5 separate regions of the Homo sapiens genome follow, and regions 1, 2, 3 and 4 are each linked to region 5. Evidence: promoter capture Hi-C in 16 types of primary human blood cells and fetal thymus (Javierre and others, 2016). All regions are on one chromosome and are shown on one strand. Each heading gives the region's core, a stretch centred on a gene start or on the middle of the fragment in contact. The rest is flanking DNA. Distances are from core to core; before and after follow the strand shown.

Evidence for each region. The method cuts DNA at HindIII sites, captures the fragments that hold promoters and counts their contacts. A CHiCAGO score of 5 or more calls a contact.
Region 1: a contact is called between a fragment that was not itself captured here and the fragment with the promoter of SYT17 in region 5, in 5 of 17 cell types (M1 macrophages, M2 macrophages, monocytes and 2 more). The highest score is 10.3, in M1 macrophages.
Region 2: a fragment that was not itself captured here is called in contact with the fragment with the promoter of SYT17 in region 5 in 7 of 17 cell types (M1 macrophages, M0 macrophages, naive B cells and 4 more); the score reaches 21.0 in M1 macrophages.
Region 3: a contact is called between a fragment that was not itself captured here and the fragment with the promoter of SYT17 in region 5, in 3 of 17 cell types (M1 macrophages, M0 macrophages and naive B cells). The highest score is 6.6, in M1 macrophages.
Region 4: a contact is called between a fragment that was not itself captured here and the fragment with the promoter of SYT17 in region 5, in 4 of 17 cell types (M1 macrophages, M0 macrophages, M2 macrophages and 1 more). The highest score is 6.0, in M1 macrophages.

The regions. Positions count from the first base shown.
Region 1 is chr16:19,329,478-19,332,177 of GRCh38, forward strand. No RefSeq gene overlaps it. Among named protein-coding and RNA genes, the nearest start is that of LINC02858, 3.3 kb to the right of the region's middle. The HindIII fragment of the contact is 9,542 bases long and covers 1-2,700 here.
Region 2 is chr16:19,349,054-19,351,753 of GRCh38, forward strand. No RefSeq gene overlaps it. Among named protein-coding and RNA genes, the nearest start is that of LINC02858, 16 kb to the left of the region's middle. The HindIII fragment of the contact is 187 bases long and covers 1,334-1,520 here.
Region 3 is chr16:19,401,017-19,403,716 of GRCh38, forward strand. No RefSeq gene overlaps it. Among named protein-coding and RNA genes, the nearest start is that of TMC5, 16 kb to the right of the region's middle. The HindIII fragment of the contact is 3,241 bases long and covers 1-2,700 here.
Region 4 is chr16:19,307,638-19,310,337 of GRCh38, forward strand. It overlaps CLEC19A (C-type lectin domain containing 19A), which reads left to right. Exons shown (of 5, transcript NM_001256720.2): 4 at 1-40; 5 at 1,367-2,700. The coding sequence ends at 1,446. Among named protein-coding and RNA genes, the nearest start is that of CLEC19A, 23 kb to the left of the region's middle. The HindIII fragment of the contact is 9,354 bases long and covers 1-2,700 here.
Region 5 is chr16:19,166,832-19,169,531 of GRCh38, forward strand. SYT17 (synaptotagmin 17) reads left to right here and starts at 1,409. Exons shown (of 8, transcript NM_016524.4): 1 at 1,409-1,830. The coding sequence starts at 1,816. RefSeq lists a silencer at 805-1,054 and an enhancer at 1,246-1,993. The HindIII fragment of the contact is 5,386 bases long and covers 1-2,655 here.

The DNA.
Region 1 (2,700 bases), core at 89-2,588, 160 kb after region 5:
TAACCACAATTTACCATCCAAGCCTTCTCTTGGAAGTTGCAATCCTTCAAATAGATGCCAGTGTTATAAAATAGTTACATCAAATACAAATATATATATATATATAATATATATATATAGAGAGAGAGAGAGAGAGATTGAGAGAGAGGGAGAGACAGAGAGACAGGAGAGAGAGAGAGAGAGAGAGAGAGACAGAGAGACAGGAGAGAGAGAGAGAGTGTGGGCCGGTCTCAAACTCCTGAGCTCAAGTGATTCACCCACCTCGGCCTCTAAAAGTGCTGGCATTGCAGGTGTGAGCCATTGTGCTCAGCCAAAAATAGTTACATCAAATAGATTCTGCCAGTGCAATTGTTATTTAGGTAGGGAGACGGATTCCTGATGTTTCCTGCTCTGCCATCTTCCCAGAATCCTCCTCTAATTATTTTTAAATCCACTAAGTCCACTAAATTCATTTCCCAACCCACTAATGGTTTGCAACCTGCAGCCTGAAAAATTACTGGACTAAACTATGCCAAATTGTCAGCACTTAAAAATTTTCTAAGCACCTACTATGAGTCAGCTGTGAAATCTGGCTGATGGTCTCAAGAGAAATGAGACAGGGCCCCTGGCTTCAGAGATTTTGCATTCTAGGACAGGAGTGTGGAAGAGACAGAGAAAGAGATGACTCGTCATTTGAGCATCTATGATATACCAAACTCTTTGCCAGGCACTTACACATCTGATGTCACTGGTTTTCAGACCAATTCTATGAATTAGGTCAGTGTTCCTCAAACTCTTATGTGCATAAGAGTCACCTGGGGATCTTGTGAAAATGCAGATTCCTGTTCAGCAGGTCTGGACCAGGGCCTGAGAGCCTGCATTTCTAAGAAGTTCCCAGGTGATCCCTATGCTGCTGGTCTAGGGAACACATTTTGAGTGACTAGGAGTCATGTGTTTTAAGACTTGTTTTTGTAATCCAGGTGCAGTGACACTCACCTGTAGTCCCAGCTACTCAGGAGGCTGAAGCAGGAGCATCACTTGAGCCCAGAAGTTTGAGTCGAGCCTAGGCAACATAGAGAGACCTCATCTCTTTAAAAAAATGTTTTTAATAAGAAAATAAAAATAAAACTATTTATTGACTCATTCCTACATAACAAGCACCATACTCGGCACTCAGAATGTAATAATGAAGCCACAACTTGAACGCAGAGCTCTCTGATTTCAAACTTATGCTCATACCCAAAGAAGTGGGAACAATTGTTCTCAATACACAGGAACGGAAACAATAGGAGATGGCGCTGGGAGGGAGGGTAGAGACCAGGTCAGGACCAGTCTCCAGGGCCAGGCTGGGGGACTGGTGGGCACTTTAGCTGTCATGGAGGGCATGATTTGATGCAGTCTGACTGGTGGTCAGGGTAAGCTGATGCCGCCCTTCTGAGTTCCTTGAGGCCAAAAAGCCTATGAGTCACACGGCAAGTCACTTCCAATACATGCCCCATGAGGCAGCACTTTCCGCAGTAGCCTTGAACTATTCGCTCTGTAGCTTCCAAATGAGTCTTTGGGGGCAGGTTTGCCAAATAGCACAGCGGGTCCAACCCACCAAAGGCCTCCATAGCCTGTGATCTGTCAGTCTCAGATTCTTGCCCCTCAGCAAGACACTTGGCTTAACAATCAAAGCCACCGTGGCTCTGAAATGCTCAAATATTTATTCCACTCACTGTTTGCAATTTGCTTTGTGTGATTTCTAAAGCTGGAGTGCTTCCAACCACAAGGAACAGCTTGGCAAGACCACTGCTGACTGCAAAGAGACTCAGTGCCCTTCAGCAGATACAAATGAGCACCAACCTTGTTCCATTTCCTGCAATAGGCATTAGGAGCATGGGGAGATTTGAAAATGTGATACAGAGGCCCCAATGTCATTATATGGGCTGTGTGTCCCTCTCTGCTCAGAAGTGGCTCAGAGAAAATCCAAATGGCCAGTAACCATGGCCAGCTCCATAATAAGATACAGGGAACCAAAACATCAGCAGGATGACATGATTCTTCCTTCAGAAATGTAAAAGATAGAAAACATTTGGTGTTGGAGGTGTTGTAGTGAAATAGACACCTTCATATACTGTTATTGGGAAGGCTGATTTGAGAAACTTTGGAAGCAATTTGGGAGTTTTTGTTGGGAGTCTGGACATGTTCAATGGTTTCTGACCCAATAATTTTACTTCCAAGAGCCTATCACTAAAGAGACAAACACAGGACTTGATGTAAGAATTGAGAGCTCTGTGTTCTGGGCACACATGCCTTGGAACTCTTACGGCAAGTTGTGAAGGAATCAATAGCTTGTGCGTAGTTCTCCATAGGGTATGGGACAGATCTAAAGAAATGTGCTTCAAGATACAGGTCATAAAGACCTTCCTGATAAAACAGGTTGCAGTAAAGAAGCTGGCAAAAACCAAGATAGTGACGAGAGTGACCTCTGGTCATCCTCACTGCTACACCCCCACCAGTGTCACGACAGTTGACAGATGTCACGGCAACATCAGGAAGTTACCCTACATGGTCTAAAAAGGGGAGGAACCCTCAGTTCTGGGAATTGCCCACCCCTTTCCCAGAAAACTGATTAATAATCCACCCCTTATTTAGCATATAATCAAGAAATAATCATAAACATGGGTAACCAGCCCTCAGGGCTGCTCTGCCTATGGAGCAGCCATTCTCTTATTCCTT
Region 2 (2,700 bases), core at 177-2,676, 180 kb after region 5:
GGCTGGCTGCCTCTGAGTCACCGCACACCGGCAGACGGTGCTAAACTAATTTCCCAGCATCTTTGGGAAGGATTTGGTTTCTGTCTCCCCAGCTAAGAGCCATGCAGACGGTGGCAGCAGGCTGGCAGGACCTAGGGGCTCCCTGCCTGGTCTGGGAGAGCCCAGACTGAGATGCGATGCGATAAGATATTGATTAGCAAAGTGGCTGGGGGTTGGAGAAGGTCCAGGTTGCAGCCTGAACTGGATTAAGGGATGGAACAGCAGGTGCCAAACCTCAAGGATGGTGCTAAAACATCCCTGGAAATGTAACCAGATAGAGAAAAGTGTCATTATTTTTTACAAAGACTTTTTTTTTACAAAGATTAACAGGGCTCTTACCATGTATATGAATGATGTAATCTTCATTAACAATTCTACAAGGTAGGTACTATTTGTTATTGCCAAAGTACTGAGGCACAAAGTGCTAGTAACTTGCTCAAGGTCACCACCTGGTAGGTGATGGGGCCAGGTTTTTAACCCTGACCGCCAGACTCAATAGGATACCTCAACATTAGCCTGTCCAGGTGCCCACACATCTTAGCCGACTCTGCTGAGCTGTCAGAATATGCCTAGAAAGAACACACATATATCCCGTCTTGGTTCAAGGTGATAGAATCTTTCAGATTTGTCAACCTTACAAACCTCATCGGTAAAGTGGGAATACTGATAATACCCACAAATAAGTTTTAAGATATATAAAGGTTTAAGACACTAAGTATTAATAATGCTATTTAGAATCATTATAACAGAAAGGCCGCCAGTCCACTTCAATTTGACCATAACTCTAGCAGATGGACATTAAGATTCTACCAAATGGGCCAGGCGTGGTGGCTCACGCCTGTAATCCCAGCACTTTGGGAGGCCGAGGCGGATGGATCACAAGGTCAGGAGATGGAGACCATCCTGGCTAACACGGTGAAACTCCGTCTCAACTTAAAATACAAAAAATTAGCCAGGTGTGGTGGCACGCATATGTAGTCCCAGCTACTCAGGAGGCTGAGGCAGGAGAATTGCTTGAACCTGGGAGGTGGAGGTTGCAGTGAGCCGAATTCGTGCCACTGCACTCCAGCCTAGGCAACAGAGCGAGACTCCATCTCGAAAAAAAAAAAGAAAGAAAGAAAAGAAAAGAAAAAAGATTCTACCAAATGGACTTCTTTTCACCAAATCCTCTAACAAAGCAAATAGCAATAGAGCGGACATCGATTTCCTTTTTCCTTTTCCCTCATTGTCTAAAAGCTGTGGTGGATGGAATTGACCTAAATCTCAAATCCAAGGGTGGGACTTGATGGGTCCAAGCTTATCAGGGTATTTCCATCAGACTTGCCCTTGACTGGTTCAAGTAACCCAGGCCTAGCCTAAGCGAATCAGCTCAGTGATCCACGATTAGGAGAATTGGTTTAAGACTGGTCCAATCAACGGAGTTAGGATTTGTATTCATCAATTAAGGGCAGTGACTCGCCCTCCTCAGATATGAATAAAGAAGCTTGTAACCTTGTTTGTTGTTGATAGCTACCTTAAAGCCCTGGAGAAAGCCAGTTTGTGGATGAATCCAACTTACGGAGAAGGCAGTGCCAGAAGAACTGCAGTGAAACAGAGCTGGAATCTTGATCAAACCACACCAGAAGTGTCTCTGAAGCTGGCTTTTATTGTTTGACCTGGTTTGAGTTGGTTTCCTGTTACTTGCAACCAAAAGAATCACAATTGATAGACTAAACCATAGATAGCTTAAAAAATTATTGTGCAAAATTATATTAGTTCTTTGAGAAATTGGGAGAAAGGCAGGGGAGACAGAGTTTAGACAGAAAGTTGAGGTTTTTTGTTTTTGTGAGACAGGGTCTCACTCCAGTTGCTCAGGCTGGAGTGCAATGGTGCTATCACAGCTCACTGCAGCCTCAACTTCCTGGGCTCAAGCAATCCTCCCACCTCAGCCTCCCAAGTAGCTGGGACTACAGGCACGCACCACCACACCTGGCTAATTTTTTGTATTTTTAGTAGAGACAGGTTTTCACCATGTTGCCCAGGCTGGTCTTGAACTCCTGAACTCAAGCAATCTGCCTGCCTCAGCCACCCAAACTGTTGGGATTATAGGCATGAGCCACTGAGCCCAGCCAACAGAAAGTCTTTTACTCACCCACTAGGATGGCTATAATTTTTTTAAAGGACAAGAACAAGTATTGACAAGGGTGTGGAAATTGGAGCCCCCATATGCTGCTGGTAGGAATGCAAAATTATGCAGGCACTGTGGGACTGTCACCGTGTGGCAGTTCCTCAATAAGTTAAGCACAGAATTACCATATATGCCAAAAAAATTGAAAACATGGATTTAAACAAAAACTTATCCACAAATGTTCATAGCCAGAAGGTGAAAACAACCCAAATATCCATAAACTGATGAATGGATAATCAAAATGAGAGATACCTATGCCTTGCAATATGCGTTAATATCATTATGCAATAATATTCCTTCTTGGCCGGGCGCGGTGGCTCACGCCTGTAATGCCAGCACTTTGGGAGGTCAAGGCGAGCAGATCACTTGAAGTCAGCAGTTCAAGACCAGCCTGACCAACGTGGTGAAGCCCCATCTCTACTAAAAATACAAAAATTAGCTGGGTGTGGTGGCACACGCCTGTAGTCCCAGCTACTTGGGAGGCTGAGGCAGGA
Region 3 (2,700 bases), core at 160-2,659, 230 kb after region 5:
TCTCCCCCTTTTTTAAACTAGACTGTGATGGTTCACTTTGCTGATCATCAGACTCATGATTATTAAACTTTTGTATGTCATCCTGAAACTCCTCCTCCTCAGTGTAGAAGGGCTCCAGTGCTGTTTTAATTGCTGGCCACACAGACCAAGTGGAGAAGGAAATATCGTAACCCTCTTGTTTTGCTCCTTGTAAGTCTGATCCGACCTTGTCCCAATCTTTTACATTCATGGTTCCATATCCTGGGAACAAAGGAGAATACTTTTCTATGAGATGGAACAAAGATGTGAGATTTTGGGTACTCACAATTACCCCGCTGTGGCACAATAACTGCTGCACCAGGCTTAAGTAATTTGCAAACTTACTTTCAGCCTGACCCATATTTTCCTGAGGTTACCCTGGAATTCTCCGAGCACCCTACTTACCCGTAGAGCCTGAAGTGAAAACGTACTCGGGCAACCTTTGTCAGTCGTCCTCCACTTTCCACGCTCTGGCGTTTCTTCACTGGATTATTTGTAGAGATTATGGGGAGCCCCACGTTGGGTGCCAGATGTTGGGGAAACCAGCCCCACACCACCCAGTGGGTACCCCAAGTCTGACAGACACAAAGGAGTTAGAAAGAGACAGAATAAGCATTTAAAAGGCGGGTTCAGGGGACCAGAGCATCAGAGGCTTGCTCACGGCCCAGAGCTCTTGGGCTTCACGCAATTTATTGGCTTACAAGCTCTTTGTTCTTAGGGCAGATGGGAGGGGGAGGAAGGGATGAGGAACAGGATTAATCAGTGAAGGAGAACTCGTGAGTCATTCGATAAGATGTGTAGCAGTGGTGGTTTCTGTGAATTTCCTTGAGCAAAGATGTGTGTCTAAACTACTTAAGATCTTTAACTTACCAGGACTGAAACAGGTGGAAGTGGGTTTCAGGAGGAGCCAAGATGTTTGATTATACTCCATTGCTTCAAGGGAGTGTAATCTCCCTGACCAACCTGTGGAATGCCGCTGAGTGGTTATGCTCCCAGGGCATAAAGACATGAAGGCAATAAGGAGACTTTTCTCCTTAGAGGCTGCCCATGGCTTCCCATGGGTGTCTCACACAGAGGAGACCAACTCAACTGGCAACCCAGAAACTCTCTTTCCCACAGGGAAATTGTGGAAGAGCAGGTTAGAAGAGTAACCCTCAGGGGTCGATTTTAGTTTTGTTAAATTTGAGATGTACCCAATATTTTTTTTTTTACGATAGGGTCTTGTTCTGTTACCCAGGCTGGAATACAATGGCACAATCATAGCTCACTGCAGCCTCTGCCTCCCAGGCCCAAACAATCTTCCCACGTCAGCCTTCCAAGTAGCTGAGACCACAGATGCATGCCACCACGCATGGCTAATTTTTTGAGGAATTTTTTTTTGAGAGATGGGGTCTACCTAATGTTGCCCGGGCTGGACTTGAACTACTGGGCTCGAGCAACCTTCCCCTGCCTCAGCCTCCCAAAGTGCTGGGATTACAGGAGTGAGCTATTGCCCCAGACTCTGAGATTCACCCTACTTTTGAGTGGGGTGATGAATTCTGATCCTGCAAGATCACATTGAAAAGGATATGTTTAAAGGGATGGGAGGACTTTGTGATAGCATGTAAAATGGTCAGCACAGTTATTACACGGAACTAAATTTCTTTTTATTTAACAAGCACTTACACACTTTTATGTGTGGCAGGCACTATAGGTATAACTCTTTATATAAGCTACTCATTAAATCCCCATTAAAGCCCAAAATGATAGGTCCTATTGTTGCAGTATTTTTCTTTAGTTCAGCTAAAGATGGGGTTTTTTGTCTCACAGCCACAAAAATTCAGGCTCACAGACAATTCGAATGGTGAGTAAGACAGGGTTTTATTGGGTGGAAAGGGAAGAAAAGGGGGAAACAGGGACTCTTGCTAGGTCAGAGTCCCTGCTAGAGCACTTCCCACCTGGCCATTCAAATCCCAGATTCCACACAGAAAGAGGAGGGGCCAGGCTCCTCCCAGCTGCAAAGTCACAAACTTGTGTGGCTCTTTCCAGTGAGCAGGCCAGTTGGAGAGGTTGGAGGTTCTCTGGGGATCCCCCTCCCACCTAGCTGTCTCATTCCCACCTCTAAAAAAGTACATCTAACTGCCATTAGATTAAGGAAAAGGACAAAGACTGATCTTAACTGCTTCCTGCTGACAGGGGATGCTGTTTTGGGGAAATGACAGTCAGAGCTCCCTCAGAGGTCTATCTAAGGGTTCCCAGCAGAAGGGACCATCATCCCAGGCTCCAGTTATATGACTGTTTGGAGTTTGATGGTCTGAAGGCAAGAACAGACAAACTAGGTTATTAGAAAACATGTATCAAAACGAAACAAGGGGAAGGGGAAGGACAGCTCAAAAATTTCAAAGCCTTTTATCAGTTTGCACAGGGAGAGGGAGACCAAAAGCCTGACTGGCAAAAAAACTTTACCTTTTGCCAGCATGTTGGGCTTCTGGGTTCCCTTCCCTTGAGGCCAATCCTAAGCCCACCAGTTTAAGGTTTGGGAAATTAACTCTTTCCAGTTTGGAGGATGCATCTGAGGGGAGTGTCCCATACTATGGAGACACAATTACCTATCAGTGATGAGAGAACAGAGGAGGAGAAAGGAAAAAGAAGGCGTTTTTCAAAGGAGTCCGGGGGCTTCAGGATGCATTTGAAAGGGGTACA
Region 4 (2,700 bases), core at 11-2,510, 140 kb after region 5:
GAAGAGGACTGCGTGCAGATATGGTACAGGCCTACCAGTGGTGGGTACCCCTGAGACCAAGGCTCTTGCAGGGGAGCCCAGGAGGTGTCACAGGTGGGGAGAGCGGAGAAGGGCCTTGGGGGAAGAGGAGCACCTGATGGCCTGAGACTGGCAAATTGTTCAGCACCTTGGAGAGCGGTGGAGGTCACTAGGGTGTCGGGGGCATGGCCATTCGCCACAATGGATATGCTTTAAACAACATTAAATGGGGTTTGGTTGACACATAAACTCCAACTTGAATGAAAAGATGTTATAAATAGAAGCATGGGGGGAATAAAGACTTGTATAGAGAGTAGTCAAGGGGTGATGCTTCCATGTCAACTCAACAACACATCAAAGTGCAAGCCCCTTCCACAGACTCATGCTCCTGAAGCAAGCCACATGTGTGGTGGCATGAGGGTGTGGGTAGTGAGAAGAGTATAGACTTGAATTCAAATTCTGGCCCTGTTTCTTTCTAGTTCTGTGTCATTGCAGAGAATTACTTATCCTCTCTGAGATTCTGTTTCTTCTTCTATAAAATGGGCTTAATAATTTGTCCTACCTACAAGACTGCTGTGAGGATTAAAGGAGGCACAGTTGATATAGCACCGTGGCAAGAGCATGGACTCGGGAGTTGACTGCCCTTGTGTGAACCCCCGCTCCATCCTTAATGTGTAGCCCAAAGAGAATGCCTTAACCTCTTGGTGCCTCAGATTCTTTGTCTTCAAAATGTGGCTAATGATACTTAACTCACAGGTTAATGTGAATAAAAAAAGAAGATAGTGCTCATAGAATAGCTGCCATGCTCAGTATTCAGTATTAGCAATCACCAGCATCATCATGAATCATCACTTTCACACCAATGTTAAGAAATAGAAACAATATTCCCACTTTGCTGATGAGGAAAACGAGGCTCAGAGAAGTTCAGCAACTTGTTCAAGGTCACACAGCAAGCTAAGTAGTGGAGCTGGGTTTCAAATCTAGATCTACAGAACTCCAGACCCAGACACTTAATTGTTATTCCCTCTTTGCTCTTTTTTCTTTTCCTAATTAGGGGAGGGAGGTAGAGAACAGCTTATTTTCCTGGGAGCCCTCCTGGAGCCCTGGGTAGCCAGAGTTGGGCCAAGCCTCTGGCTGAAGTTCATCCTCCCATCCAAGGTGACAAGCCAGAATCAGCTTTATGCAAGAGTAAGGCTGGACAGCAGGCTTGTCAAGTATCAGCAAGAAAGGGCTGCCAGCATAGACACAAGGCCTATTGGAGATGGCTTTTACTTCAGAGGAGTGGTGGGGTTACTTTTATCTTGGCGGATGGATTTTCACCCAGATTCTCTGCTTCTTTCCATCACAGCTCTGAGGTCATGGAATGATAACACCTGCAGCCGGAAGTTCCCCTTTGTCTGCAAAATCCCATCTCTGACCATTCATTGATCCTGTCTTGTCCTACTGGTGTGAGCTCAACTCTAGTATCATCTTGTAGCTGTAACCAGTGTAGAATTGACATTGAATACATGTAAAACATACATAGGAAGTAAATCTCTTGGACAGAGATTTTAAACAAGCAGATCTTAATTATACAGGGTGGTCACTTGGCCAAGTGTCAGGAAAGCCAGCTCAAATTGGCTTAATTTTTTAAAGTGTTTTTTTTTTTAAATTGACCCAAGTAACAAAAATCCAGGGGTTGTTCTGATTCAGAGTTGAATCTCACTGGCCTGGCTCGGGTCACGTGCCCATCCCTGAAGCAATCACTTTGGCATATGCTAAGTGGCTAGCTCCTGCTTAGCTGTACATCTTTGGACAAAATGGGGTGGAAGTCACATTATCAGAGGCGCTGGGAGTGGGGGAAAATGCGGGGGGGTGTTGGTCAAAGCATACAAACTTTTGGAAATAAGATTAATAAGTTTGGGAGGCTTAATGTACAGCGTGATGACTATAGTTAATAATAATGTATTGTATTCCTGAAATTTGCTACGAGAGTAATTTTTTTTTTTGAGACAGAGTCTCACTCTGTTGCCCAGGCTGAAGTGCAATGATGCAATCACAGCTCACTGCAGCCTCAACCTCCTGGGCTCAGGTGATCCTTCCACCTCCAGTCCCCAGAGTAGGTGGGACTACAGGACGCTACAGGCGCATGCCACCACATCTAGCTAACTTTTGTATTTTTTTTTTTAAATAGAGACGAGGTTTCATCATGTCATCCAAGCTGGTTTCGAACTCCTGGGCTCAAGGGATCCACCCACCTCAGCCTCCCAAAGTACTGGGATTACAGGCATGAGCCACTGCGCCTAGCCAAGAATACATCTTAAATATTCCCGTCAACACATGGGCTCAAAGATGAGGCTGGTTCTTCAAAGGAAAACAAAAAGATTACCAAACTCATAAATTGCTGGTGGGAATGTAAAATAGTGAAGCCACTGTGGAAAAGTTTGGCAGTTCCTCAAAAAGTTAAACATAGAATTACATCTAAGCCAGCAATTCCACTCCTAGATCTCGACCTAAGAGAATCGGAAACAGGTATTTAAATATAAGTGGTCGGCCAGGTGTAGTGGCTCATGCCTGTAATCCCAGCACTTTGGGAAGCTGAGGAGAGAGGATCACTTGAGCCCAGGAGTTGAAGATCAGCCTGGGCAACATAGTAAGACCCCATCTCCATAAGAAAAATTTTTTAATTAGCCAAGCATGGTG
Region 5 (2,700 bases), core at 159-2,658:
GTGCCTACTCTGGCTGGACAGGTGCTACCTAATAGGAGTGATCAAGGTACTGCAGGTTGAAATGAAATAACGCTTGTGAAGTGTTGAGGCGTGTATGCCTGCAGAATCATAAGCACTCAATATGCGTTACGTGCTATATGCTACAAACTAAATATATCATACTAAAAAATGTATAGGTCTGCTAGATTTTTAGACAAAAAATATATGCATCTGAATATCCATCTTTTGTTACTCCCATATTCATTTTCTCATTTATTCCCACAAATCAGCCCTGGAGGATAGGCAGGGTGGAGATTTTCTCCTGTTTTTACTGAGGAAAAAGAGGCACTGGGAGGTTAAAATTAAAATGCTGATAAGCTGGTGTCCGGCAACAGGAGATGACTGGGCATATTAAAAAGAAAACCGGCCCGGCGCAGTGGCTCACGCCCCTAATCCCAGCACTTTGGGAGGCCGAGGCAGGCAGATCACTTGAGGCCAGGAGTTCGAGACCAGCCTGGCCCACATGGTGAAACCCTTTCTCTACCAAAAATACAAAAATTAGTGGGCGTGGTGGCATGTGCCTGTAGTCCCAGCTACTCGGGAGGCTGAGACACGAGAATCCCTTGAACCTGGGAGGCGGAGGTTTCAGTGAGCCAAGATTACCCCAGTGCACTCCAGCCTGGGTGACAGAGTGACACCCTGTGTCAAAAATAAAATAAAATAAAATAAAATAAAATAAAATAAAATAAAATAAAATAAAATAAAATAAAATAAGAAATCCAGCGGAGGGCAATGTTCCACCTCGAATCTCTGAGTGGAGAGCCAGAGGCCTTGGGCTGGGAGGTTTGATGGAGGCCTCTGGGTCCAGGGCGCCCCAGCCACGAGGACAGGCAGGAGGGCGGCGGTGGACACGCCCCGGGGCGCACGCTCGCTGGCGGCCGCCTGCCCGTGGGCAGAGGAGCGCACGAGGCCGGGCACGACGCTGGGTGGCGCTGCCGGGCCGCCCCGCGCTAGACCTGTTGCGTCCAGGGCGCAACTCCGGCAGGTTTAGGGTAAAGGGGCGCTCCGCTCTCTCCGCGCGCCCCCTGCAGCCCTGGACGCAGCACCTCCGTTTGGGACGCCCTACGCCCACCTTAACTTGAGGCTCCCATCCACGCAGCCTCTGCAAGCCTCACCGCAACCGTGCTAGGCGCGTCGGGTGGGGCGGGAATAAAGTTTTTCCAACCCAGTTTGGGGAGAGGGCTGGATGGGAAGGACCCTCCCTGCTGCAGACTTCATGGCAGGCTGCACTGTGTCCCCTCGGCTCCACGGCTGCCCCGGGGGCGCTGCTTTCGGTAGGTGCCAGCCCCCGTGCCAGCAGGATGGGCTGACCTGTGTACCGCCCCCTCCCACCCCCTTCCCCATTCCCATCCCCTCCCCCGCCTCCTGCGCGCTCCGGCCCCGGCGTCTCCGGCCCCGCCTGCGCTGGGGTCGCTGCAGTCCCCGCAGCTGCCCCGGGCTGCTTGCCCAGGCGCCCCGGCCTTATTCCAGCCTGGGGAGCGCCTCGGTGGGGAGCACGGGACAGCGAGGGAGGCCGAGGCGGGGGCCCTGGGCGCCCGATATCTCCGAACCGGGGAGGCGGCCCCGATTCCGAGAGCCGGAACGCAGGGAAAGGCAAGGACGGGGCGGCCGGCGGAGGGGCGGGCGCCGCTCATCAGCCACGCCAGTCACGTCTGGGGCCACCGGCTGCCTTTTTCTTCCTTTCCCCCTTTGCTTTCTTCCCCCTCCGCTGTTGGCGAGGGCAAAGTGGCCGTGGCGGCGCCATGCCCGGGCCGGAGTGAGTGCGCGCGGGCGAAAATGGCGTACATCCAGGTAGGGCTGAGGCTGGGGGCAAGGTCCGGGGTGCGGGTAGGGGGTGCCGCGCCCCCTCCGGCTGGGAGCGCGCGGAAGGGAGGGCCCACGGCTAGGCTCCCACAAACTTGCTTCGAGAAAAAGGGTGCCCGTGCGCGGGCAACCTGTGCAGCAACAGGGGTGCGCCCCGGGAGGAGAGACTGGGGACCCCCAAACCCCGGGATGGAGGGTCCTATGTGTACTCTGCAACGCGCGCCCTTGCCTCTTGGGGAGGGAATGGGGGGTGGGGCGGACTTTTCTTCTCCCCTGCCCCCTCCCTCTCCTTGGCACCCCACCCCAGGGGAGGGGCCGTGGGGAGGGCGGCCCGGGGCGCGCCAGCCACCCGGCCCGCCAGCTGCCGTTGCCGTGGTGACGGCTCCGGCTAATTGGCCGGCGGAGCGAGCCTGAGGCAGCTGTTCCGACCAGGAGGGACAAGGACGTCGTCTCTCCTGGGCACTGGGTGCTGAGGGGTGGGGGACACCCAGAGGCCAGAGGCGCGCTGGTGAAGAGAAGGGAGCCTGTTACTTTACTCCGCTGCATTGGGGTCTGGGAGATGTGGACCCTCTTCACCTTGAAGAAACGTCCCCCAAGAATCCTTGGGCTGAAATAATTCTGAAATAATTTCTAAGCAGCCTTTTTTGGGGGGAGGGGGCGGAGGGGTGGGCCGGGCTTCTTGGTGAAAAGACCTTTCTCCTCTGCAAGAAGGGAAGTGACCGCAGGTCAGCGCCAAGGTCAAGCAGGCAGACCCGCAGTGAGACCCGTTGAGCTGCTTGCTTCTGGCGCTGGCGCCTCTGAGCTGGGCAGAGAAGCTTACAGACTCCCACGTCCAGGGTGCATCTTGGCTCACATCTT